Linked DNA regions of Homo sapiens: region 2 is linked to region 1. The links are contacts of gene promoters, found by promoter capture Hi-C in blood cells and fetal thymus (Javierre and others, 2016). All regions are on one chromosome and are shown on one strand. Each heading gives the region's core, a stretch centred on a gene start or on the middle of the fragment in contact. The rest is flanking DNA. Distances are from core to core; before and after follow the strand shown. Region 1 holds the start of NPTX1 (neuronal pentraxin 1). Region 2 overlaps BAIAP2 (BAR/IMD domain containing adaptor protein 2).

Region 1 (7,311 bases), core at 3,033-5,532:
GTCCCATCTCTAGCTGTTACACCCTCTCACTCTACAACACGGCAAGCTTTTGCCGAGGATCTGAGAGATGTCATGGAGCACGATGCCTTTTAAAGCTCAGACCAGCCTCCAACCTGGAATTTCACTCTCCCACTGCCATTCCAGGTCGGGAGGATGACGGTCCAGCAGACAGTGAGGAAAGAAACTTCACACCCTTTCCGCTTGGGGAAAGGGGGCCCAGAATGGCACAGCCCTTTGTGGGGAAGAGCAACAGGAACAAGGGCGTGGAATCCACTTCCCAGCCCAGGTTTTAGCCATTGACTACCACTGCTGGCCTGGACTTGAGACAGTTTGAAAGCTGGCAGCTAGTTCCATAGCTAACAGGGGAGGATGGAGAATGTTCACTAGAGGGAAAGGCTGCCTGTGCTGTCCTGTTCCAAGGGATCACACAGACCTGTCCTCCTCCCGAGAGTTAGGGGGCTGAGTGGGATAGACTTGGACTCAGGAAAAATCTCTAAGGACCCCTCACCCCGCTAGAGCATCTCTGGGTCCCTGCTATGGAGGGGCAAAGCCAGTTCCAAGGCCAGCTGGTGGAGGAGTCCAGATCACATCATCGGGCAGGGCCAGGCCCCATGGCTCGTTCTCCGCCATCTCCCGTACCCACCCCAGGAGGCATCCGGGAAGGTCCAGCTCTCCCTGCTCTCCCAGTACAGGTGAGGGGGCTCCTACCACTTCTCCTGGTCTTCACCCTCCCCCTCCCTCAGTCCCACCTGGCAAACACTTTCCTTGGGGCCCCATCAACATCTGAGGCCACCATAGCCCTGTCTCCGCATGCAACATGAGCTGGGGCCCTGGGGCCTCGCCCTGCCGCCCTGTGAGCCCGGGGGCTGCTCTACCTTGTCATTGATGAGGATCTCCATGGGGTTGTTGCCCCACTCAATGAGGACCAGCTCGTTGGCCTGGCCGGGCACAGCGTAGGAGAAGGGCGTGCCCACACCTGGCGTGGCGCTGGACTTGAGCCACATGCAGACAGTGAAGGCGTACATCTCTGGCAGGCTCTTCTTCACCTTGGCATACATATAGTTGGTCCGCAGTGGGAATGTGAGCTGGAACTTGTCTCCAGGGCGGTTGTCTTTCTGACCTGCGGAAGACACAGTCCTGACATCTGCACCTGCGTGAAGTGCTTATCGGTGTCTGAGTTGAGTTCGGTCCCCACCAAGCTCTGTGATGCGTGGCCAGGGCAGGCTCCGGTCTCCATTCTGGAGACGCAGAGCGGGTAGCTTCCCAGGTCAAGTACTTTGCCCCAAGGCACAGGGCCAGTCTGTAAAGAGCTGACCCAAGCTCTTCATGCTCCAGGTCTGGCCTGCTGTCACGCCCATGTGCTGGCATCCTTGGGGAGATGGGGGTGGGGGGCAGTGCCTGGTGGGCTGCTGCATCAACACTGGGCTGCGTGGTGGGCATGAGAAGGGAATGGGGACAGCCGCCAAGCCAAGTCAACCCAAGGAGCAGGGGTGGCTGCAGAGGAGGAACGAGGCTAGCTACCCTGAGAGTAACCGACCTGATTCCAGGATGGGGCGGGGCTCAGAGCCTCTCCTCGCTCAATCCCAGGCTCTGCTCCTGCCTCTCCCCACCCGACAGCCAGGCCCTGGTGCCCACACACTTCCCTCCAGGCCAGATGTGCCTCTGACCCACCAATGCCTCTTGGGTGTGAGGCTGGGCAGCTCCCCACCTCCAAGGCCCTTCCTTGGAGCAGGGACTCTGCCTGGAGCTCTGCTGAGAGGGCAGGGCAGCAAGGAGCTGGGAGTACTCTGGGCGCCAGGGCTCCCCAAGGTGACTGCTCTAGGATGCCGCCACACTCTCAGGTGAGTAAGTGTCCTCACAGCTCAGGTTCCAGGCCTGGTGGCCTCCCTTTCCACAAGGCCCACCTTCTCCCTCCCCACCGGCCACTTCTCCCGTAAGCGCCAACCCCCATAGCCCATCTATATACTGTGGCACCCTGGGTATGGTGTGACTGACTCCAGGCAAAACATTCCTGGCCAGCAATGGGCACAGTAGCAGGCCCAGAGCCCAGGAACACACACCCCTTGGTCAATCCCTGGGTGAGCAGCCGTGGTCCTGCCAGGAAGCCCAGAAAGAAACCAGTTCCCCAGGCCAAAAATTATTTCTAGAAGACATCCTGCCCGGTCAGCAACCACCCCCTCCTCTAAACCAACTGGCAGGGAGCAGAGCAGGGCAGGCCCCCTCAGTGCAGCACCCCAGCGGCTACCCCAACCCATTGAGGCCTGCAGTGGGGGATAGGGAGGGGCCCAGCCCCTGGCCTTTCTCCGGGTGTTTTTCATTCCCCAATCTCCGCTCCTTCCCTCTCCCTCCCTCCTGAGGTCCTTCCTTCTGATCTGTTTTTCAGTTACATAACAAGCCTTAAGATGGCACTGTTTAAATCTGTCCGGCACATTTTGCGGTCTGAGCAGGGTCACGTGGCCTTGCTCCGCACCGGGCACCCCCCCCCCTCCCCTTTTACAACCTTGTTTGATTTCTGCGACTTCAAGACAGAGCCTCCAGCGCTCATCCAGGCGCCCTGGGTGATAGACTGGCTGGCCTGAGTTGGTGACTGAGAAACCTCAGGGATTTGAAAGATGCCAGGACTTGGGTCACTCAGAAAAGAAAACCTCAGGGTAGGGGTTCAGGACAGAAGTGGGGAGGAGCTGGAGATCCTGAGAGGACACCGGGGGCATGGCAGCCGGGAAGAAACCTGCTTAACAGCCTCAGCGGCCCGGGGAACGAGAGCGCCCAGCCCCAGCCTGCACCCAGCTGTACGCTGAGGCTGGGGACCAGGGAGAGACAGGCTTTCTTAAGCAGGGAGGGTTTGAGCCAGCGACAGCCACTGTGCAAAGTTACTGAGGATTAAACAAATCAGACTTGAAAAATCCAGCGAGTGTGTGAGTGTGTCTGGATGGGGGAGGGGGCACTATGCAATCCCCTTTCCCAGAGACAGCCCCAGCCCAAGGCACCCAGCCCTGATAGAAACACCGACTAGAAGCCCAGAACCTGGGAAGGGGTGCGGGGAATGAGAAAGCGGTGCAGGGGTTGGGGGTAGCGGAGCGGCTTGAGGCTTGCACAGTGCAGAGCTGGGCTGTTAGGGATCGGGACCGAGGCAGGGTCGGGCAAGCAGGTGCAGGCAGGCAGCACGGCTCCCCCTGGCCCCAGTACCTTTCTCGAGCTCGCTGATCCGCTGGTGCAGGGAGGTCAGGGCGGTCTCGATCTTGACCCTCTCCTCGGTGTCGTTCCTGGGGCCCCCCTTGCCCTCCTCCAGGGTGTTCACCCGGGACAGCACCTGCCTCTCCAGCTCATCGATCTTGCTCTGCAGCAGATCCTTGAGGCTGTTGGTCTGGCTGGAGGAATTGAGGCGGCTGTACTGCTGCGGGGTGCAAGGGCGGGGGAAACCACACCGTTAGGCGAGGCGCGGGGACCGTGCTGGAAGGCCCGCGGCGCGGTCCCCTCTGGGCGACTGCGGGGGCGGCCTGGCAGGGAGCTGGGGCGAGTGGCCGCCGCGGGGCCTCGCAGGCGCGGGGAGGCACCGGCCGGGCACCCGCGCGGCTGAGGCGAGGGCGGGGGATGCCTGGCCGGGTAGGGAACGGGGTGGGGGAGGGCAGAGGGGCGAGCGAGCCGGAGGGGGAACCGGAGCCGAGGGCGCGCGCGGACCTCGAGGTTCTCCAGGCGGGTTTTGAGCGATTGCAAAGTTTGCCCGAGTTGGCTGAGCGTCTCGGCGGCCGGTGTCCGGGACAGGTCGCCCATGGTGTTCTTGCCCGAGCCGGGCTGCTTGCGGCCGCCGCCCGCCCGGGCCTCGCCGGCTCCGGGGTCCAGCGTGCTCTGGCTCTCGCAGCGGCCCAGCTTGGCGGTCAGCTCGCGGATGGTCTCCTTCTGGCTCAGGATGGTCTCCTTCTGCTGCAGCACCGTCTCGCGGAGCTGCAGCACGCTGCTCCGGAGCTCCTCGGCGCCGCCGGCGGCCACGGACGCGGCGCACATGTCGGCGTCCACGGGCACCGAGGTGCAGATGAAGCGCGTCGGCCCGAAATCCTGGGCCCCGGCGCCCAGGAGGCAGAGGGCGAGCAGCGCACAGGTGCGCGCGGCGCGGCCGGCCGGCATGGCTGCGGGCACCGGGCGCTCCGGGCCCGGCTCGGCTCGGCTGGGGCTCGGCTCCGGCTGGGACCCGGCTCGGGCTGTGGCTCCGCGAGCGGCCCGCGCTCTGGGCGCCGCGCTCTTCGGCCGCGCGGTCCACACCGCCGCGCTATCAGGCCCCCACTGCCGCCTGCGCTGCGGAGCCCGCGCCTTTTATGCCGCCGCGGGAGGGGCCTCGAGCCGCCGACGTCAGCGGGGGAGGAATCCCGCTTTAATTGTCCGCGGCCCGGGCCCGCGGCGCGGCGGGGGTCTCACGAGCGCGCCACCGGGGCTGCCTCCGCTCGCGTCCCCCCCGCCCTTCTGGGAGCTGCCGCGGCCCCCTCCTCCCCCGCCCCCGCCTGGGCCGGCGCTGCTGCCCCGAAGGCTCCGAGAGCTCAGGGGGAAGGAAGTCGGGCTCCGGCCCCGGACTCGAGGATGGACCACCTGCGTGGTGTCCCCGAACCTCCGACGGGGCTCCAGGCGGGCGGGAAACCACCGCGTCCGGGAGATAGAATTCGGTTCGGCCCTCCTGGCTGCACTGAACACCCTTGGGCCGGGGTCGTTTGGAGCCGGGCTGGGTGCCCAAGGACCCAGGTCGTCAACACCCGAGTGCCCGGTGGTCAACGGCTCGGAGTGGGGCCTCGCGGCGCCACTAAGTCCAGAGCGGGGGTCACCGGGCCGCCCCGCGTTTCTTAGATGTCCGTGTGCTATTGAGAAGCCGCCGGGCAGCCTGGGTACAGGGACTTCCCACGGGTCGGGGCCCCCGGCGCCTCCCCTCCCCCAGCTCCCGGGCTCTGTGGACCCGGCCCCGTCCCCGGGGGACTGTCAGTCCCCACCCCGTGCGGGCGGGGCGCTGGGGACTTCTCGGAGGCAGACCTAGCTGATCGAGCCTTTCCTGTCCGCGGCGCCGGCCCGATCGCGGGCAGGCGGCGTCGCCGGGGCTGGACGTTCGCAGCGGCGCTTCGGAAGGGGGCCCCGCGGGAGCAGCCGCCCGCGTCTCCAGCAGCTTCCCCTTGCCAGGCGCCGCGCGCGCCCGGTATCCCCGGGTGTCCACCTGTGCGTGGGGGGCTGTTTCCCGTCTGTCCAGCCGCGCCCACTTCTCAGGCCCAAAGGCCAGCAGGAAGGGTCCCGGAGGTGGCTGGGGGCGTCCACCTGAGAAGCTCCGCTCTCGCTCAGACACCCCACCCGGCACCCGCGCACTCGCGCCTTCATCTGGACCGCGGGGCTCGGCTCCCGAGATCGCGGTCCGGGTTCCGGCGCCGGGCTGGGGGCTCAGGACCAGGGCTGGCGCAGCCGCCCCGCCCCGCCCCGCCCCGGGGCTATCAGAGCGGTCAAAGCCTCGGAAATCCCTCCGTCCACGCTCCCGTGGTACAGAGAAGGAAACTGAGGCTCCGAGACTGCGGGGCCGGGCTACAGCCGTGGCCCCCCGACCCCTCCCCGCCGCCCCCGGCTTCTCTGGTCTCTGCGTTCTGCAGCCTTTCCCTGCGCGCAGCCGGGGGCTGGGGGTCCCCAGCCAGCAGGGACCCACGGGCAGTCCCGGGTGCCGGGATCGGGCGTCCGCCCCTCGGGCGGGAGCAGAGGCCGGCTCGATGGAGACCTTTTTGAGAAATGGCGGCCTCTACCCGCCCCCCAGCCCCCGAGCGCCCGCCGTCTGCGTTCAGCATCTCAGCTTTTAAGCCTCCCTGAGCCGGGGCTGCGTTCTCGTTGTCTCCTTCGGCCGCCGCTTCCTGGCGCCAGAGGGACCCCGCGGCCCGCACGGGCCTGTCCTCGGCTCCGCTCGGAGGGTGTGCGGGTTCCCGCTCCGCTGGCCCCGCTTGCCCACCACGGCGCGCCCAAACCCACGCGGCCCGCGGCCCCTTGCGTGCTCTGCCGACCCCGGGCCGCAGGAGGGGTTAGCCTCGCCGGTCCCCACGCGGGGTCTGCGCCGGCAGCGCCACGGGCTGGAACGCGCCTCGGGAGAAATTACCCGCGCGGGGTCGCGGCGTCTTCTGCCCCAACTCCCGTAGGGAGCCGCTAGGCGGGTGCCCTCCTGGCCCCAGCGCTTTGGCCTCGCCGCCCTCCCGCACGCGTCCAGTGGGGAGGCCGCGCCCGTCAGGCCTGGAGCCGGACCGTGCCCAGCCGAGAGCGCGCGGGCGCGGGAGAGGAGCCCTGCCCTGCCCAGGGCAGGCTGTTTAGACGGGGCGGGAACCCTTAGCCTGGCCCCGCGTCTCTATCCCCAGCAGCCGTGGAGCCTTCCTAGCCGCCCAAGGCCAGGGACCCTGCCTGGCTTTTCCTCCAGGGCAGCAGATCTCAGCGGCCTGGCACCTCGGCACAGAGGAGCGTGTCCCCCTTCCGCAGAGGAAGGGAGTGGACGGCGTCAGAAAGGGAGGGGAGCCTGGGGCGGTGTCTGGGGCTAGCGGGACCTCTGGGCACTGTGGGGCCCCAGGAGAGGAGACCCTCGGGTCCAGCCTGCAACTGTTGTGCAGGAGGCGCTGGGCGGGACACCTGCAGGCGCTGCACACACACGCGAGGGCCACCATGCCGCGTTTCTCCTTCACAAGACCCTGGGCAAGCGGAGGGTCGTATTTAGGATTCCCTCGGCCTCCCCAGTGTTCTGAAAGTATCTGAGAGGGAGGGAGCAGGAAAACGAAGGGCCGCCCTGCCCAAACTCATCGGGGTGTCTGGTTACTAGGTCGGAAGAGGGGGGATGGTGTTGTGAACAGCCAGTGATCCCGGCCCTGCCTGAGTCCCACACCCCAGATGCAGCTGGGGTGAGGGAGGCGATCCCGTAATATTCCCAGCCGCGTACATTTGTGGCTGCCTGTGACACGACCTCACTCATTGGGAAACCATGCACACTAGCACACTGTTATTTTATTTTTGAGACAGGGTCTTGCTCTGTTGCCTAGGCTGGAGTGCGGTGGCGCAATCACAGCTAACTGCAGCCTCGACCTCTTGGGCTCAAGCGATGCTTCCTGCACCACCACACTTCAGCTAATTTTTTTTGTTTTTTTCGTAGAGATGGTTGAACTCCTCTTGCCTTGGTCTTGGGACTACAGGTGCAAGCCACAGCGCCCGGCCTAGCACAATAGTACTTATTATACTACTCCCACCATAACGGTGCAATAGATGTGAATAAAACTCAAAAGCATAGACAAGGCTGGGCGCAGTGGCTCACGCCTGTAATCCCAGCACTTT
Region 2 (7,632 bases), core at 4,790-7,289, 590 kb after region 1:
TTGCACTGGCTTTGCTGTTGGCTGGGAGGTCAGTCTCTGTTTCTTCTCCTTTTGGAGCCTCCCTGCTCCCTCGTGGGCTGCTCGGCCGTGCAGAGTCAGCTTCTCCTCCTCCCGGGTCAGAGCCCCGTGTTTTCTGGGTCCTGTGTCTTTACTGTTCCTGTATTACTCCCACCATTTGGGGAATTGTCTTTTTCTTTCCTTTTTTTTTTTTTTTTCGGTTAGGTTTCTGAGTGGGTGAACGGGGAATGTGTTTGAGCCAGTACGTGTCTGCCATTGTCTCTGCTGGTGGCTTAGCTGGTTTGGAGTTTGCAGGTGGAAGATGCTCTGTGTTCAGAGTCTGAGGGCCTCACACCGTCGTCTTCCAGCTCCCACCGCTGCTGTGTTCAGGGCCACCTTGGTGCTGATTTTATGTGAGTGTTACTTCCCCCCCGCCCCCCCGCCGCCCCCACCAGCTCTGGAGATGTTTGTGCTGGGGTGTTAGGAATTTCCTGCCGATATCTTTCCTGTGGTGGCAGGTCCTGAGAGGCTTGTGAACAGCATCACTCCATGATTGAGAGTGGTGTGCAGCCTCCAGGGCCCACAGGAGCGGGGACCTGAGCGAGGAGGACTGCAGGGGTTAAGAGGAGGGGTGAAGGAGAGGGGCAAAGGGTGTGTCCAAAGGTGTGAGGTGGACAGAAACAAGAGGCTTTTGCAGAAATGTGAAAGGTCTGGAGCGTATGAGGGGGTGAGGCTGGGAGGGGAGGCAGGGCTTTGAGGAGCCCAGGGCCTTGTAGAGATTCCAGGCTTGGTGCCACAGGAAGATGGATTTGTGCAACCTGCCTTTCTCACTGTGTCTTAGGGTCCATCTGTCATCTGTGTTCTTGCCACACGCGGATGCCTTCGTTTTCACTGCTGTAGAATATTCCATAAACGTGTAACAGTTTCTCTGTCCTCCTCGGTGAGCAGTTGAGTTACCCCTGGTGAGTTTTTCTGGATGAGCTCGAGGCCCAAGGGGCCCTGAGGCTGAGCTCTCCTGCGGGATGAATTCCACAAGGCCCCGTGGGGTTGTGCGGCAGCCACTTGGGCAGTAAGTGAAGGAGGCGTTCGTCTCACTCCCCAGGCCGGGGGCTCAGCAGTTGCCCTGGGAGTTTTGCTTTCTGTGTTTGCAGGCTGTGTTATTAAGTGCGTGTGTGTGGGTGTGCCTTCCTGAGCTGAGCCCTATTATCGCAAGGTGGCTTGCTCTGGCCCTGAACAGTCTTATTTTTGGTTCGTTTGGTTGGGTGTTGAGTTTGTTTCCTGTTCTTCCTCTTCAGCCCCGGGGACGTTGCTCATTTCTGGTCACCTTCTCCTCCAGCTGTCCTTGCTGCCCCAGGATGGGAGGATGGAAGGTGCTGTCCCTGCTCTCTGGGAATGAGCCAGGCCCTCAGTGGGTGGAGCCCCTCCCAGGAAGGCAGAGCCCTGGTCTGTGCTGGGGTGGAGGTGCTCAGCTCAGACCAGCCCCTTGCTTGGCCGGGAGGTGGTTTTCAGTGATTTGGTCCTGACACCCGGCCGAGCAGGGCCCCAGCCTGTCCTCTCTCTGCTGGCCTCCCACCCGGGCCCCTCTGGGTGTGGCCTTGTGGCCATATGGGGCCAGGGTTGCCAGGCAAGCAGTGGTGCCAACCCTGGCTGCCCTTCTTCCTCCTCTTCTCATTCCTTCCCCACTTTCATTCTTCGCACCTTTTCTTTCCCATGTGGCACCTGCTCTACTCACAGGGCAGTCTGCCTTTAGTCCTGTGGGTCTCTCTGTACCTGCACCTCTGGCCCTGTAGTGCCCACAGCCGGGGAGGTGGCCTCGGGCTATGTAGCCCTCACGGGGAGGTCCTGTCTTCAGCCCCGTCAGGATGACGAGGATTCGGCTGCACTGACTCCCGGCTAATCACTGTGGATGATGCTGCCCGCTCCCCCTTTCCCTGCAGAGCCCTGAGCTCTGTTCTTCCTGGGAAGAGTGAGGGTCCTGGCAGCACCCCCTCACTGTAGCCAAGCGTGCTGCTCCAAGTGAGCCCCAGGTCTCCGGAGCCGGGAGCCAGCCTTGGCCTGCGTGAGCTTTCATGCTTCTGAACCAGAGCCTGGCCCAGGGGTGAAAGCCCAGAGAGTCTTTTTTTGCTTTAAATGAGCAGCTGGGGCTGCCCCTTTGTTCTCTCTCCTGGAGTGAGGAGTGGCTGGGTCAGAGCCGGCCTTTGGTGATGTGGGTCTTTCTGTACCTGTGGCTCTGGCCGTCTGGCACACAGCTGGGGAGGCAGCCTCGGGCTTTGTGGCCTGCAGACCTCACAGACGGAAGGGCCTCCCGTCTTCAGTCAGAGACTGTTTTTTCCCTGCAGTGAAAGAGTTTCTGCAGTTAACTCTCAGGGCTTTGCTTTGATATGGCAAGCGCTTAGTCAGGGAATGGAGTGGCAGCTCCAAGTTCCGGAAGCTTCTCACAGCCCTTCTAATCCCCTAGCCGGCAGCCACCCACACTTGGCTGTCTGCTGGCTGACTGGTTTTCCAATCCCCGCCATGGTGTTTCTCCCTTCCAGCTCCGGCAGGCGTGATTCCGGGGCACACCCACTGCTCTCAAAGCCCCTGAGCCAGTGCCTGGGTTAGACTTTTCCCAGGGGCGTCTGCTCCTCATCCTCTTGGGCTTTGTGCTTGGGTTGACTGGCAGCTCGGGGAGACTGGAGTGGCCGGCTGGATCTGAGTCCTGTAGGCCAGTCCTGGCATGTGTAGACACTCAGTGTCCCTGTGGCCCAGGAGCAAGCCTGGCAGGTGACCCGAGGGAGGGCGGGCCCAGCCTGGTCACAGAAGCAGTGCTGTGCCCGTCCCGGCCCCCTGCAGGGGTCCAGGGTCCTGAGCTGAGAGCCTCAGGAATCTGGGGAATTTGCTAAGATGTGTGAGTGGCTCCTCCTCTGTTTTGGGCACCTCCCTGGAGGCTGGCACCACCAGGGGCTGGTGTGGAGACCCAAGGGTGGAGGGCAGGGCAGGTGCTCACCATGCCGCTGGGCCGTGTGGGTGCCTGGGTGGACGTGGCACTGGTTCTTTGTGCGGGTGGAGGACAGCTGTCCAGTCTGCCTCACCGACAGCTGTGGTTTGCAGTGTCCTGTGACTGCACTCCTGAGCACACCCCTCCACCCCCTTGCTGCTGACAGCTGCCTATGGCCCAGGCCCTCTCGCTCCCCCACCCGAGGCTGGGCGCACAGAGCTGGGCTGAGCCTGGGTCTATGCTGGCCAACGGGAGAGGCAGATGGGAGGAGCAGGCCAGAGTCCCAGTGACCTGGGGTCCTGGTACAACGTGTACACCTGGGCAGGTGGCTCTAGCACTGTGTGCCAGAACCGTCTGTATGAAAAGAGGGTCACGTAGCTGCCCTTTGGCCTGGCTGTGCAGGGAGGCTAAGGTCTAATCACCCTGTAGAGAGTTGTCGGCTCTTCAGGACGGTGCCCTGTCTTCAGTGAGGGGGGCTGTCATTGCAGTGAGCGGGGCCGCAGCCCTCCCCAGCAGAGAGCACTGCACTTCCTTTGTGTGGTCAGACCCGCATGTCCAGCCTGTCTATCTGGGGCCCTGAGCCTGTTGTGTTTCTTGTCCAACTGCTCTGTGGCCCTGCCACGGAACACCTGAGCCAGGCTGTTTTGCTCAGCCCTTTCCCATCTCTGGAGGCCTCTGGTGTGTTTTTGTCCTTTGAAGAGGCCGCTGTGTACCCGCTGGTGCCCACAGCATGCTTGTTTGTGATCACAGGGCGTGTGTGTACCTGCTGGGCGCACTGGGCCTGTCCTCTGCCAGCTGCCCGGCATCCCCAGGTGCCCGGGAGAGTGGCAGGAGCTCCCTGTTGGGCCAGCCTCAGAATGAGGATGTTAGCTGGCAGGGGGCATTGTCCCTGCCTGAAACTGTGGGCTGGATTTTGGTCACTGAGTCACTGAATTAAGGTGTGGCCTGGAAACTTCCCATAGCTGTTGGCTGCAGTGCACGCCTCGTTGTCCAGAGTGAGGCAGGTGTTCTGAATGCCCACCTGGGAGAGCTGGGGCCTGGGGCCCCCACAGGTCAGGTGGTGCCCCTCCTGTCCCCGCAGGTGTCGGCCTCCCTCTTAGAGGCACTGAGTGGCTCCCTCCGTGTGTGCGGCATCTCTGCGTCTCTGAAACGTGGGGCCCTGTGCAGAAGGGAAGGTCCTTGGTCATGTGAACCCCAAGGGGACTTCGGGGCTGTCCCCAGTGGCTCCCGTTGGCCAAAGTGGCTCGGAAGCACCATCTCATGTCACTCACCTGGTAGGGCCTCCTGCTCTCTGTGAGGCCAGGCTGTGTCACGGCCCCTCTGGGCTCAGGCGGCTCCATGCACAGTGCACCCAGGGGCCCATGTGTCCCAGCCTCCTCCTGCAGGTGGAGGCCGCAGCCTCCCTTTGGGCCAGTGACTGTGACAGCAGTGTATGGGCATGACACCTGCTTTCAGGCCCTCACGGCAGGGCCTTGCCTTGTAGGCTGCCAAGTCTTCCTGACAGACACCATTTGAAGGCCTTAATTAGATCAACCTTACATCCCCGAGGGGGCCTGACACGGAGGTCCCTGGTTGGTCCCGGACCTCCAGCACAGCGGCGCCTGCAGATGAGAGGGAAGCGAGATGCCCCTGGCCCAAGCCCAGCCTGGGGGCTTCCCTTCCAGAGCCCAACCGCTTGCTCCGACCTGCCTGTACCTCCCTTCCCCCCCACACTATTCCTCCCTCCCTACAGTAGGACTCCGGCAGGGGTGCTCCAGAGACAGCCACCTGAAGAAGCCACCAGGATGCTTGGGAAGGACGCTGCCCTGGGCCCTGCCTCCCGCCCCATGGGGATCTTTCAGGCCCCCACCGCCTGTTCGCAGAGGCGCGTGCTCCTGCTGAACTCTGTGGGGACCCTCCAGCACCTGAGCAGGGGAAGGGGGCGGGGGGGCCTCATGGTGGGCGGGTGGAGGGCCTTGTTCCCCTCTGGCTGTGGCTGGGGATGGCCCAGCCCTGCCCGCCTGCCAACAGCTTTGCGGTGCAGGCTGAGCTCTGCAGGGAGATTAGCAGCCGTCCTGATTGGATTGGCCGTGTTGCAGCCGCGGCAGCCAAGTGTGGGCCCCTGGTCTGGCTGCTCGTGGTTTGATCCTGAGCCGTTTCCTGCTGGTGATCAGTAGCTCCGAGCGTCACCCACAGAGGGGCTGCTGGAGTCTCACTCAGCAAGAGGCTCTGAGGCCCGGCCAGGTGTCCTCTGCCGGCGTTGCTGCTGCTCCCTTTGGCCCAGCATCGCAGCGGGGAGGCACCCTCCCTGAGCGCTCACGCCACAGCGTCAGGCCTCAGCCGGCCAGAGCAGGGAGGACAGCTGGTCTCTCCCCTGAGATGCCGGGGCTGCCTGTCCCCCGGTTGGGGCACAGCTGATGGCACCTGCCGTCCCTCGGTACTGTCACCAGTGCTCCCTAGGGAGGGAAAGAGAGGAGCCGCTCAGCCTTCCTCCTCAAGCCAGGAGCTGCTGAGGTGCTGGCTGCCTCCGATGTGGCCCCACACAGTGTTGGCCGCAGGCCGAGGGGCCTGGGGGCACAGGTGCCGGCTCAGGAGCCTCTGTGGGCAGGTGTCTGCATCTCTGGGGTCCTGGGGGACGTGGGTCCCATGCACTTTGGGTGGTGCCAGTTGGCAGAAGGGTGGGCACGTCAGGCCTGGCAGACACTGGTCGCAGCCACGCAGGGAGATGACGGCCGGTGCTCTCAGGGCGGCCTCTGCTCCTGTTTGCATCTTGTAGGGTTTGGAGCGAGTCAGTGGCTGAGAAACTCTCTCCCAGGAGCAATGTTCCCTCCTGGTCAATAATCAGTGAGCACAGATAGGCGAGGCTGGTTAGGAGCAGACCACGCCCATGGCAGGGGTCTCCCCCTCGGGCACGCGTGAGGAACTGGAGGTCTGAATGGCTTCTGTCCCCTGCAGAGCAGCTGTCTGAGGGGGTCTGTCCCCGGAGGCCAGGACCCTGGTCAGTGCCATCCGGGTCACGGGTGTTCTTTTGGCCCCAGCTGTAGGAGGGCAGCGATGCAGGGCCCAAACCAGAAGCCGCTCCTGAATCCCTGACCCCAGGATCAGTGTGAAACAAAGCCCACGACCCAAGGACCCCGCAGTCAGCAGCCGCACAGACGGAGCCAGCACTGGAGCCCGTCTCAGGTGGCTCCGCTCTTGTGTCCCCTGTCCCCGCTTCCCTGCCCTGGGGAGGGTGCCCCCAAGCCTGGTACTGCAGAGAAGGCCACCTCGGTGGCTCCTTGGTTGTGACATGAAGTCCTGCGGGAGGGCCTGGGGGGACTCCGGTCCCAGGGAGGTGTCTTTCTCAGGATGGGGGGCCATATCTGGTTGCCAGTGTCTCTGTCCAGCCTTGCGTTCCTGGCTGTGGGAGGTGCCAGTGGGTTCCCTTGCCCACAGTGTCTGTGACCGTTGTCCCAGACATGCTCCTGTGTGCCCGCTGCCGAGCTCCAGCTGCTCCAGGCTCCTCCACTCCCCAGTCACACATTTGACGACTTGTCTGGCACTGGGCCCCGTAGAAACAGACAGGACAGGGTCTCAGCAGCCCCAGGGGTGATCCCGGTGGCAGGGGCTGGGCTTAGAAGGATGCGCTGGGTCCTCCGGCTGTCCCCACTGTGCTTGTTTGTTTAAACGTCTGAAGGGCAAACGGCAGAGCATCAACTTCTGGTAGCTCCGAATGGTGGGTCCACGGGCATTCGTGACGGTCTCCTAGGTACAGTTTATACATTGGAAGCATTTTTGTAATTGTTACCAGCAGTCACATGCAGGCGGTCACATCACTGCAGGGCCAACTGGACTGTGTCCCGGGCAGAGACTGAACACGTGCACACACCCAGCCAGAGCACGCACGCGGGCACAGATAGTCCTGGATCCAAGTACCGAGGGGCGGCGCTCATGCCATCTCCATGGAGTGCTGGAGGGGTGACAGGGAGAGTGGCCCCTGGCAAGGTGGTCAGAGAGGCTGGGGAGTGGTCCACGGGGCGGCCGGTCTGAACTGCCCACCTGGCTTCTCGGCGGCCCCCGCTCATGCCATGGGACTCTGGGCAGCTGGGGTCCAGGGCTGGCTTCAAGGACGCCTGCTGGGAGTTCTCGAGTCTGTTCCCTGCCTCTGCAGTAGCCCCTTCCTTTTCGGGAGGTGTAGTCTGCGAGGCCCCTGGAAAAGCCTGGCGGGGGGCGTGGTTCTCCATCCATGGCAGCTCCCTCTGCCCACTCGGGGGACTCTCCCCCGCCAGGACTGTCCACTCACGAGCTCAGTCTGGCCAGTACGTTCCTAGGCAAGGTTCAGTTCGCCTCCCAGCCTTCCTCGGTGGACACCTCTGGTCTCGCCGGTCACGTGGGAGCCATGCCCAGGGCACCTTGGGAGGATGCTGTGCCGTGGGACCTGAACAGGCAGCAGAGGTGACCAGGGTCTTTGGAGATGCACTTGTTGTACCCAGGAAGATTGGAGGGTTTTTTGTTTTCTTGGTTTTTTGTTGTTGTTGTTGTCTTTTCCCCCTTTTTGGAGACAGAGTCTCACTCTGTCACTCAGGCTAGAGTGTGGTGGCGCAGTCATACATAGCTCATTGCAGCCTCCTGGGCTCAAGCGATCCTCCCACCTCAGCTTCTGAGTAGCCAGGACTACAGGTGTGTGCTGTCACGCCTGT

Evidence for each region. Contacts are between HindIII fragments. The CHiCAGO score rates a contact against its expected background, and 5 or more counts as called.
Region 2: a contact is called between a fragment that was not itself captured here and the fragment with the promoter of NPTX1 in region 1, in 1 of 17 cell types (naive CD4 T cells). The highest score is 5.5, in naive CD4 T cells.

What each region holds. Positions count from the first base shown.
Region 1 is chr17:80,472,325-80,479,635 of GRCh38, forward strand. It overlaps NPTX1 (neuronal pentraxin 1), which reads right to left and starts at 4,283. Exons shown (of 5, transcript NM_002522.4): 1 at 3,679-4,283; 2 at 3,187-3,394; 3 at 876-1,120. The coding sequence starts at 4,122. RefSeq lists an enhancer at 2,737-3,270. The HindIII fragment of the contact is 19,396 bases long and covers 45-7,311 here.
Region 2 is chr17:81,062,490-81,070,121 of GRCh38, forward strand. The region is part of intron 3 of BAIAP2 (BAR/IMD domain containing adaptor protein 2); the gene reads left to right. Among named protein-coding and RNA genes, the nearest start is that of BAIAP2, 31 kb to the left of the region's middle. RefSeq lists enhancers at 840-1,447, 2,055-2,661. The HindIII fragment of the contact is 7,227 bases long and covers 2,427-7,632 here.